Regions from separate parts of the Homo sapiens genome. Here region 2 is linked to region 1. The links are contacts of gene promoters, found by promoter capture Hi-C in blood cells and fetal thymus (Javierre and others, 2016). All regions are on one chromosome and are shown on one strand. The core of a region is centred on a gene start or on the middle of the fragment in contact, and the rest is flanking DNA. Distances in the headings are between cores, read along the strand shown.

Region 1 (6,037 bases), core at 421-2,920:
GTACACTTGCCTTACCCGTGAGATAGCGACAGACACTTTTGCTATCTACCAGGATGTTAGAGTCAAAATGAAGTAGCTTACATGAAAGCATCTTATTTTCCGCAAGGTCTGAAACAAAGGAAAAAGCTGTTGTAGCAGGTGTGTGGAACTACCTAAGCAAATAAACCACAACAGAGATGATGAACAATGAACAAACTCAAGTGTGTCATGTCAAACAACTCCTAACATCTTATAGCCATTAAAGTAGCCAACAAGTTGGGAGATGTTGAGTTGTGCAAATATTACATCTGGTTTCTCCTGAATCTCTGAAGCTGATTCTGAAAGTAAAAATGATTAGGGCTCTGGGAGGAGGAATAACCTAGACTATAAAATAATGGGAAGTTCCTGAGATAGGCTCTTCTCTTTCCATTTAGCACTTTCTGGCTATTTTATTTGCAAGAGATTCAAGGTGTGTTCACGTTATTTCCTCTCCTTTCTTCAATAGAGAGAAGACTTAACCTAAGTCTTCCTGCTCCACCCCTATCCCTAGTGATCATCAATCTATTTTGTTTCATAGACAGATACATCATAACCTTGTGACCCAGGTTTTACACTTGGGTCCCTTCACAGTTCCAGAAACATACAGAACAAATGTCATAGAATCATGAAAGAGAATTCAAAGGCTATAGACTCCTTAGATAAAAAAGGGCAGATTTATTAAAGAACCCTGATTTAATCATCCCACAATGTATACATGTATCCAAACATCACATAATACCCCATAAATAGGTATAATTATTAGTTGCTAATAAAAAATAAATTAAAAAGAAAATAATTTTTAATGTAAAAGTAACAGTTCTTTCTTTAACTGTGCATATTTAAATTTTTGCTCAATTTTAAAAAAAGAATCTCAAGGATAAGAACACTTGAGTCAAATGCAGGGAAACTCTGTCCTGATTTAAGGATCCAGGCTCTTCTAGTGTTCAAATATCAAACCAGGATATTTGCCTCTCAACTCCTTAACTGCATAAGCAGCTGACACATAGATTGGAGTTACTATGTGTTAAGTGCTGTTTCAAGTACTTTACTGATACCATCTAAGTTCTTACAACAATCCTATATAATATGTTCTATTATTATTTATGTCTTACAAATGACAAAAATTGTCACACTGAAGTTCATAGCTCTAAGTGGCAAAGGCAAGTTTCAAACTCTAGCATTCTTGTTCCTGAGTTCATGCTCTGAGGCACAGTGTTTTAATGCCTTTACAATAATGCTAATTAAATGGATTGTGATATTAGGAAAAGAAACCAAATTACTAGGATAGAATATACATCCAAGGACCAAATACATACAGTACAAGAAAAATAATTTAAATTTTCTATTCCATATTAAAGGTAATGTTCTTCTTAAACTGAGAGAATTTTTTCACTTTGTCAAATAGTTGGATCCTTTTAACTTTGGGGTATTTATATACTGTAGATAATCATTTCTCTGTTACTTCAGATTAATAATTTTTTGGAAAAATCATTAAAGAGGCATCTATATCTAGATAGACTAAGAGAAAGAGATGTTAACATTATGAATCTGACAATATACTTAAAGTGAAGGCGTTGGGAAAATGTTCGTATTACAAAGATAGTTATCATTTTGTCTCTTTCAAACACATTCACAGAAAGAAGTTCTTCAGATGCGAGGTTTCAACAAAACCACTGTGGTTACACAGTTCATCCTGGTGGGTTTCTCCAGCCTGGGGGAGCTCCAGCTGCTGCTTTTTGTCATCTTTCTTCTCCTATACTTGACAATCCTGGTGGCCAATGTGACCATCATGGCCGTTATTCGCTTCAGCTGGACTCTCCACACTCCCATGTATGGCTTTCTATTCATCCTTTCATTTTCTGAGTCCTGCTACACTTTTGTCATCATCCCTCAGCTGCTGGTCCACCTGCTCTCAGACACCAAGACCATCTCCTTCATGGCCTGTGCCACCCAGCTGTTCTTTTTCCTTGGCTTTGCTTGCACCAACTGCCTCCTCATTGCTGTGATGGGATATGATCGCTATGTAGCAATTTGTCACCCTCTGAGGTACACACTCATCATAAACAAAAGGCTGGGGTTGGAGTTGATTTCTCTCTCAGGAGCCACAGGTTTCTTTATTGCTTTGGTGGCCACCAACCTCATTTGTGACATGCGTTTTTGTGGCCCCAACAGGGTTAACCACTATTTCTGTGACATGGCACCTGTTATCAAGTTAGCCTGCACTGACACCCATGTGAAAGAGCTGGCTTTATTTAGCCTCAGCATCCTGGTAATTATGGTGCCTTTTCTGTTAATTCTCATATCCTATGGCTTCATAGTTAACACCATCCTGAAGATCCCCTCAGCTGAGGGCAAGAAGGCCTTTGTCACCTGTGCCTCACATCTCACTGTGGTCTTTGTCCACTATGGCTGTGCCTCTATCATCTATCTGCGGCCCAAGTCCAAGTCTGCCTCAGACAAGGATCAGTTGGTGGCAGTGACCTACACAGTGGTTACTCCCTTACTTAATCCTCTTGTCTACAGTCTGAGGAACAAAGAGGTAAAAACTGCATTGAAAAGAGTTCTTGGAATGCCTGTGGCAACCAAGATGAGCTAACAAAAAATAATAATAAAATTAACTAGGATAGTCACAGAAGAAATCAAAGGCATAAAATTTTCTGACCTTTAATGCATGTCTCAGACAGTGTTTCCAAGGATTAAGACTACTCTTGCCTTTTTATTTTCTCCTATTCCAAAAAGAAAAAAAATGCAAGTCAATCTACACTCTATATTGTCCGATGTCTAGTTAAAAAAAAAGAATTCACACTTGGCAAAAAGAGAAAAGCATGAGAGTTTTTCAAGGAAAGACACAACCAAAACAAATATAAGGACAAGAATTGCTTTTCCAGTTGGAGAGACAGAACAGAGTCTGAAGTGGCTGGAAGCATTTTTATCCGGGACACAGGCATTCATCTAGTAATACATTCATCTGTGTACCAAGTCCCATTCAAAGAGGAAAAATTAAAATGAACAAATGTATAGTTTATGGTGGTTGGGACTGGTTAGGTGAAAAGATGAACACTGAAAAAAATATGATAATGCAAGATAATCAGATCAGTTAAAAGAATATAAATAAAAGTTATGAGAATCAAAGGAATGAGTATTTATTCCATCTGAAAGAGAAAAAGATTTAGAATAAGTGGGATGAAAAGAAGGGAGAGAAAATTTAAACTGGGCCTTAAATGGAGAACAAGATATTAATACTAAGAAACTGGGTTTTACAGTGACAAAAATGTTAGTCGATATTATCAGAATTGTTGATAATTCTAGATTTTTATTATGTTAATCATAAGTTAAACATTATTTTTATTTATAGTTCTTGTTTTGTTTTCACTTAGCTATATGTTTAAGTCTTTCAGATCATGTAATTTTATTTAATAATAGACTAAAAATAAACAATAATGACATCCTCATGCTTGATGATCAAATAGAACACAGTGCTCTGAAGAGGCAAAAATGGCCATAATCTCTATGATGATCATAGTGTAATATTTATAAGAACCTAACATTTTATTGATTACAATAATATAATTTGAATTATAAACACTGATCAGGATTGATTTTAAATCTAAACTATCATTTTCAAGCTACATAGTTTAAGAAATGTTATTTAAAATATTAAAACCGATAAGCCTTGAATTTTTTCATCTGGACAACTAAGATTTCTTTTTGAGTAAATATGTGAACTATCTCATTCTCACAGTGCTTGGATTCTAGTTGAGGAAGTCAATTACTGTTAATGAGATCCTTGTTCTGCCCAGAGACTAATCCATACTAGAATTAAAATGTGCTGATTTGTTAAAATTATGTTACATCTCACAAATGAAAAGCTGAAATATCATTATTTGTATGACTGTAAAAATTACATGTAAATTTCTTTTGAGACAGGGTTTCACTCCCGTCACCCAGGCTGGAGTGCAGTGGCTCCATCTTGGCTCACTGCAGCCTCCACCTCCCGGATTCAAGCTATTCTCGAGCTTCAGCCTCCCGAGTAGCTGGGACCACAGGCGCCCACCACCATGCCCGGCTAATTTTTGTATTTTTTGTAGAGACGGGGTTTCACCATGTTGGCTAGGCTGGTTTCAAACTCCTGTCCTCAAGAGATCTGCCTGCCTCACCCTCTCCAAGCGCTGGAATTACAGGAGTGAGCCACCGCCCCTGGCCAAAATATTTTTATATAACAAACTAAACAGCATGCTCTCTTCCCTCTGTAAAGCACCCTGACTGATTTTCATGGCACAATGAACACTTAATGTTTAACAGATTACTTTCCATTGTGCCTGCATATTTCTGCCCCTACAAGTTGGGGTGGGGGTTGGGGGTTGTGCTCAAAACCACTTCTAACAGTTGTATTTATTATTCTATTTATTCTACTTGGAAAATGTAATTTTGTACTATGTAAACTAATAAAGTATGATTGCAAAAAAATCATCTGTTTTTAATACAGCCAGGTGAGTATTTTGGAAAGACTAAATATGAGGAAGAAAATAAAATCAAAAATTCTAGAAGTCTTATTCATTTGGATTTGCAAGTGTCTCTAAGTTGCTGCTTATATTTAAATTCACCAAAATGAATGTAATGCATTATGAGTGGGCTTATGCTAGAGGTACTCTGAAGAACTCTGATCAAGTAGTCTAACACTCAAAGTAAAAGCTTTATCCTTACATGAATATACTCACAAATATATGCATTTTAAGTGGTTCGAGTTAAAATAAAACATTTTAGTATATGAGTCATCTTTTTTATTTTCAACTCTGTCGGACTTTGGATTAATCAACCAATTACCTGGTCCTGTTGGGCAGATGTGAGGATTCTATTGTTTATTTTTAACTATGTAAAAAAGTATCTTTCTATAGATGAGAATAGAAATGTAACATGCAAAAGGAAGTGTGCTGATATTGTGGGTGTATGGTTTATTAGTTTTCATTTAAAACTAAGTCCATATGATTTTATAAACTGTTCTACAATTTAAGAAAGATGTGTATGCAGTTACAACTCTTGTTTGTCCAAGTTATTCCTCAACCCCCCAGATGCCTTGTTAGCAAGAAATTCACTATTTCCTTCTCGAGGCGTTCTATCCTGAATTTTTTGGAAACCCTGTGGATTTACACATTTAAAAGGGGAATCAGAGTGGTTTCCATACCAAAGACAAGAGACAGCTGGTTCACTATGTGCTGCTGTCCCCCCTGCCATCCACAGTATCATCAGTAGGATTGTTCCTACATGGCTGACAGGCAGTGCTGGTTTTCTCACTCATCACAATGGGCTTCCCAACAGGCATGGTTCTTTGAGGGATATTAATTTCTCCCAGGTAAATTAAGACTCTCTCACACTTGTTCTCTCCAGGTTTCAACTATGCCCCCCTTTAATTCCCATTCACAATTCTGTATGAACCACCAGCTTTCCTCAGGAACACTGAGTCAGAATTTGTTCTGTTGTGTAAGCACTTCAGACCCCAAGTTTCCATCACTCTTTTCTCCATGGGGATAAGTGTCTACTACACAAGAGCTGCTCCTTTCAAACACTCAGAAGACAATCTGATCATAACATTATGTGTACATGTATCAAAACATTACACTGTATCCACTAAATATGTACAAGAAAAAAGTTGAAAGATCTAATTACCCTTTTTCTTCCCCAAAACAATGGGACAAATCACTTGTAAGGCAAATATACACTTGCAACTTTAGGGTCTCCCCTATATACCTTTTCAAGTGTGTCTACCTACCTGTGAAAATTGCTTCTGGTGATTTGAAGGTGGTTTTCTCACTAGAAAAATGGAAAAATTAAAGAAAAAAAATTTGAAATTAGGACTGACAGTATACTTCCTCTAGCAGGGTATTCCATAGCAGCTGTTATCTTTTCAGTAATAAACAATGAAAATGTAAGCTTGAAAAGGAAGATTACTTGAAGTGTTCCATAAAATGTTACATTTAACTAGAGCGTTTATATATGTGTGTGTGTATATATATATATATAT
Region 2 (6,289 bases), core at 2,362-4,861, 100 kb after region 1:
AGGAAAGATCTAAAATTGACACCTAACATCACATTAAAAGAACTAGAGAAGCAAGAGCAAACATATTCAAAAGCTAGCCGAAGACAAGAAATAACTAAGATCAGAGCAGACCTGAATGAGATAAAGACACAAAAAAAATCTTCAAAAGATCAATGAATCCAGGACCTGGCTTTTTGAAAAGATCAGCAAAATTGATAGACCACTAGCAAGACTAATAAAGAAGAAAAGAGAGAAGAATCATATAGACACAATAAAAAATGATAAAGGGGATATCACCACTGATCCCACAAAAATACAAACTACCATCAGAGGATAATATAAACATCTCTGTGCAAATAAACTAGAAAATCTAGAAGAAATGGATAAATTCCTCGACACACACACCCTCCCAAGAGTAAACCAGGAAGAAGTTGAATCTCTGAATAGACCAATAACAGGCTCTGAAATTGAGGCAATAATTAATAGCCTGCCAACCAAAAAAAGTCCAGGACCAGATGGATTCACAGACAAATTCTACTAAAGGTACAAAGAGGAGCTGGTACCATTCCTTCTGAAACTATTCCAATCAATAGAAAAAGAGGGAATCCTCCCTTACTCATTTTTTGAGGCCAGCATAATCCTGATGCTGAGAGTTTTAGACCAATGTCCCCGATGAACACTGATGCAAAATCCTCAGTAAAATACTGGCAAACAAAATCCAGCAGCACATCAAAAAGCTTATCCACCATGATCAAATCAGCTTCATCCCTGGGATGCAAGGCTGGTTCAACATATGCAAATCAATAAATGTAATCCATCACATAAACAGAACTAAAGAAAAAAACCACATCATTATCTCAATAGATGCAGAAAAGGCCTTTGACAAAATTCAACAGCTGTTCATGCTAAAAAACTCCCAATACACTAGATATTGATGGAACATATCTCAAAATACTAAGACCTATTTATGACAAACCCACAGCCAATATCATACTGAATGGGCAAAACTGGAAGCATTCCCTTTGAAAACTGGCACAAGACAAGGATGCCCTCTCTCACCACTCCTATTCAACATAGTATTGGAAGTCTGGCCAGGGCAATCAGGCAAGAGAAAGAAATAAAGGGTATTTAATTAGGAACAGAGGAAGTCAAATTGTCCCTGTTTGCAGATGACATGATTGTATATTTAGAAAACCCCATCACCTCAGCCCAAAATCTCTTTAAACTGATAAGCAACTTCAGCAAAGTCTCAGGATACAAAATCAACGTGCAAAAATCGCAAGCTTTCCTACACACCAATAACAGACAAACAGAGAGCCAAATCATGAGTGAACTCCCATTCACAATCGCTTCAAAGAGAATAAAATACCTAGGAATCCAACTTACAAGGGATGTGAAGGACCTCTTCAAGGAGAACTACAAACCACTGCTCAATGAAATAAAAGAGGACACAAACAAATGGAAGAACATTCCATGCTCATCGATAGGAAGAATCAATATCGTGAAAATGGCCATACTGCCCAAAGTAATTTATAAATTCAATGCCATCCCTATCAAGCTACCAATGACTTTCTTCACAGAATTGGAAAAACTACCTGATCTTTCATATGAAATCAAAAAGAGCCCACATTGCCAAGACAATCCTAAGCAAAAGGAACAAAGCTGGAGGCATGGGAAGAATGTATATTCTTTTGGTTTTGGGTGGAGCGTTCTGTCAATGTTTATTAGGTCCATTTGGTCAAGTGTCGAGTTTAAGTTCCAAATACCTTTATCAGTGTTCTCTCTTGATGATCTATCTAATGCTGTCAGTTGGGTGTTGAAGTCTACCACCATTATTGTATGATAACATAAGCTTCTTTGTGGGTCTCTAAGTACTTGTTTTATGAACCTGTGTGCTCCTGTGTTGGGTGCATATATATTGAGGATAGCTAAGTCTTCTTATTAAATTCAACCCTCTATCATTAAATAATGTTTTTCTATGTCCTTTTTGACAGTTGTTGGTTTAAAGTTTATTTTGTCTGAAATAAAAATAGCAACCCCTGCTCTTTTTTCTTTCCTGTATGCTTGACAGATTTTTTGCCATCCTTTAGTTTTGGCCTATGGGTGTCCTTGCATGTGAGATGGGTCTCTTGAAGATAACTTACAGGTGGGTCTTGTTTATTTTTTTTTTTTTTGTCTTTTTTAACGTGAGACAGGGTCTCACTCTGTTACTTAGGCCGAAGTGCAGTGGCATGATCACAACTTACTGCAGCCTCCACCTCCCCAGGCTTGGGTGATCCTCCTACCTCAGCCTCCTCAGTAGCTGGGACTACAGGCATGTGCCACCATTCTTAGCTAATTTTCTTGGTTTTTTTGTAGAAATGGGGTTTTTCCATGTTGCCTAGGTTGGTCTCAAACTCATAGGATCAAGCAATCGGCCTGCCTTAGCCTCAAAGTGTTAGGATTACAGGCATGAGCCAGGGTCTTGTTTCTTTATTCAACTTGCCACTCTGTGTCTTGGGGTGTTTAGCTCATTTACCTTCAAGGTAAATATTGATAAGTGAGAAGTTGATTTTGTCATTATTGTTAGCTGGTTGTTATGTAGACTTAATTGTGTAGTTCCTTTATAGTGTCACTGGTCTGTTTACTTAAGTGCATTTATGTGGTGGCTGGTAAGAGTCTTTTATTTCCATGTTTAGCACTCCCTTAATGACTTCTTATAAGGCAGGTCTGGTGGTAATAAATTTCCTTAGCATTTGCTTTGCTGAATTTCTCTTTAACATATAAATCTTACTTGGGCTGGATATGAAATTTTGGGTCAGAATTTCTTTTCTTTAACAATGCTGAATATAGGCCCTCAATGTCTTCTGGCTTCTAAGGTTTCTGCTGAAAGGTATGCTGTTAGCTTGATTGGGGTCCCTTTGTAGGTGACCTGCTCCTCCTCTCTGGTTGCCTTTAGTATTTTTTTCTTTCACATTGACCTTGGATAATCTTATTATTGTGTATCTTGAGGATGGTTTTCTAGTGTAGTATCTCTCAGGAGTTCTCTGAATTTCTTGAATTTGAATGTTGACCTCTATAGTGAAGTTGAGAAAATTGTCATGGACAATATCCTCATATATGTTTTCAATTGTTTGCACACTCTCTCTCTCTCTCTTTCAGGGACATCAGTGAGTACAGGTTTGGTCTCTTTACATAACCTCATATTTCTCAGAGATTTTGTTCATCCTTCTGTATTATTTTTTCTTTATTTTGTGTGACTGAGTTAATTAGAAGAACTGGTCTTTGAGCTCTGAGATTCTTCCCTCAGTGTGGTCTATTCTGCCTTTAATACTTCCAATTGTATTATAAAATTCTTTAGTGAATTTTTTAGCTCTGTCAAATCAGCTTAGTTCTTTCTTAAAATGGCTATTTTGTCTTTCAGTTATTGTATTATTTTACTGGATTCCTTAAATTCTTTGGATTCCATTTCAACTTTCTCCTGAATCTCATGATTTTCATTGCCATCCAGATTCTAAAATCTATGTCTATTATCTCAGCCATTTTAGTCTGGTTAGGAAAGATTGTTGGGGAGCTAGTGTGTTCATTTGGAAGTAAGAAGACACTCTGACTTTTAGAGCTGCCTGAGTTCTTCCACGGGTTCTTTCTCATCTATGTGGGCTGATGTTCCTTAAACGTTTAAAGTTGCTGTCCTTTTGATGGGGCCTTTTGCTTTTATATTCTTTGATGCCCTTGAGGCTTTGACTATGGTATAGGTTTGGGTCAGTGAGCTAGCTTTATTTCTTGATGATTTCAGGGGGCCATGGCTCAGCTCAGCACTCCTGGGCTATATGCTCTAAGACTGAGGGCCTGGGACCAGGCCCAGAACCTTGTTCTTTGGCCCCTTGAGACTGAGCACCTGCTTCACTGGAGGGGGCCAAGGTGCTCCCAGTCCACTAGCAACAACACTCCTATGGTGGGCAGGGTGGGGGGGTCCCAGAAAAGCATTTCATAAGGGCAGTGGCGGTGGGGGTCTGCTCTCACATGCATGTACTGGCAGCAGTGGGGCAGTGGCATGGTGGGGTCCACACTCACTCACATGCTGGTGGTGGTGGGGCAGCAGGGTAGAAGGTCCATGCACATGTACACCAGGGATGGTAGTGTGGCAGGGTACATGCACGCATGTAGGCTAGTGGGGACAGTGCAGCAGTGGTGAGGTCTCCATGCATATGTGCACAGAAGTGGTAGCAAGGCAGTGATGTCTGTGTATGTATGCCAGCAAAGCAGTTGTGGGTGCTGAAGGCAGGTGCATGCTGATGTGAGGCCAGTGACAGAAGCTATTTGGTGGTTTGGTGGGGTCAGCCAGTGAAAGACCTATGGCAGTGGTCTCTGAGAACTGCCTCAGTTGAACATCTGAGGCTGTGCTGCAAGCAGGTACAGACAGGCAGGGATCCTGGGAGAGGCCAGCAGACATGGGGTGGGGGGCTCAGATCAGTCTAGCCCCATCCAAATATCATGGTAGCCCTATTCTGTCCAGGTCTGATAGTCAACAAAGGGGTCAAAGCCACCTAGAGGAGCATGCCAATCCTCGGGTAATGGACATCCCTAACCATGCTCCACTGTAGCTGTTCTCACACCAAACCCTCTGGGTTCCATAGAAGCTGGAGTCCTGTCCCTGCCAACTCTGCAAGTAGCTTTCCCTGCCAACTCAAATGTCTGTGTGGGTCGTGGGGGTCTCCTGCAGCTAGGATTCCAGAGGTTCATGGATAGAGTGGGCCACTTCATGCCTATTTAACCAACCCCTTCCCTAGAAGCCACTGAGGACCAAGAATAAGTCCTAGTGTTTGGCAACCCTGTGTAGGGTTCGCAGCTTCTTCCCCCCTTCAGCCCAGGGTCTGCATTCTCCCTCCATCCACTCTCAATGCCTTCTTTCCAATGATCTTCTCAGAGTATACTGCTCTTCTTGATGGTCTTGTCTCTTGGTGGGAGAAGCTCTTCCTGGCTGCATCTAGTCAGCCATCTTGTCTCTTCTCCCAAAAATAAGTTTAATTTTATATATTTTTGGCTTTATTTCCCAGTTTCCTGGGTGTCCTAGAATCCTCTCTATTGATCTCTCTGTATCTGCAGGTCACAGGGTGACTAAGGGTGCAGGAGAGTCACCTAGGGCCTCCTGGTGCCAAGGAAATGAGCAATGGAAGCAGGACCCAAGCTGGGTGAGTGGGCACAAGGAGACAAAGGCCCTGCCAGATCTGGGAAGCCACCTCCTCCTCCAAAAAAAGTTATATTCATACATGGAATTCTATTCAGCAATGAAAAGGAATGGTTACTAATACACTGAGCAGCATGGATTACTTACAACCATATGCTAAACTGAAGAAAAATAAAAGGCAATACCAAGTAGATATGTTTATTTCCATCTTAATAAAATCATAGAAAATACAAGTTTAAGCTTAAGTGACATAAAGTATATCAGTAGTTGCAAGAATGCCAGGTTGTTGGTGTGCTTGACTACAAACAGGTATGAGGGGTTATGACATTTAATATCTTGATTGTGATTTTGTTTACATGGGCTTATATAATTATCAAAATAAATAGAACTGTACACTTAAAGATTCAAATTTTACTATAAATTATACATCAATAAAATCTATTTAAAATTTTTTGAAATAAATAAAAACATGAAAACAATAGAAAAGAAACATGGACAGATTGAGGAAGCAAACATTGCAACTTCAGGAGAGTGGACACAATCTCATTTGTTTTATCCACCACCAGTTTAGAAGCTGTATGTGCCTGTCTCAACTCAGTACCCAAAAAATATTAGTTGAATTAGTGAATGAAACCTAAAGGGACTAAAGTTTAGCCAAGGCTATCTCAGATAACACAGTCCTTTAGGAAATTTGTCTTCCATATACAGCACAACGGTTGCCTTGATCCCACTCCAACCCTGAGGACCAAATCTCTTGTTCCTTTTCTTAAGTATTCTGTGACATATCTGCACCACTGATCATCACATGTAACTTGCACACTCTCTGTCTATTTGCATTTGTAATTCTCTGTGTTTAGAAAATAAGTGTATCAAGGCACAAGGCTGCACTTTTCCTTAAATGTTTAAGGAGAAAATGAGGGAGCTAAAGGAGAGTGGAATTTATCTGCTAGGTATGAAGCATTTAAACAAAAAGAGAAGCATGAATATTTCCAATGCTACAACAACATTGGGAAGGAATATAATGAGAAAAATTGTCAACATGACAGTTAATCCAACTTAGATATGATGTTTTGTTTTGTGTTTCACTGAGCCTATCATATGCAGGAAAGGCACATTTATCATGATCCTTGCCTCCTAAAAGCT

The links. Contacts are between HindIII fragments. The CHiCAGO score rates a contact against its expected background, and 5 or more counts as called.
Region 2: a fragment that was not itself captured here is called in contact with the fragment with the promoter of OR10T2 in region 1 in 1 of 17 cell types (fetal thymus); the score reaches 8.0 in fetal thymus.

The regions. Positions count from the first base shown.
Region 1 is chr1:158,395,099-158,401,135 of GRCh38, reverse strand. OR10T2 (olfactory receptor family 10 subfamily T member 2) reads left to right here and starts at 1,670. Exons shown (of 1, transcript NM_001004475.1): 1 at 1,670-2,614. The coding sequence starts at 1,670. The coding sequence ends at 2,614. The HindIII fragment of the contact is 4,820 bases long and covers 1-4,712 here.
Region 2 is chr1:158,293,814-158,300,102 of GRCh38, reverse strand. It overlaps CD1C (CD1c molecule), which reads right to left. Exons shown (of 6, transcript NM_001765.3): 6 at 5,329-6,289. It also overlaps a transcript of CD1B not described here. Among named protein-coding and RNA genes, the nearest start is that of CD1C, 7.0 kb to the right of the region's middle. The HindIII fragment of the contact is 3,555 bases long and covers 1,834-5,388 here.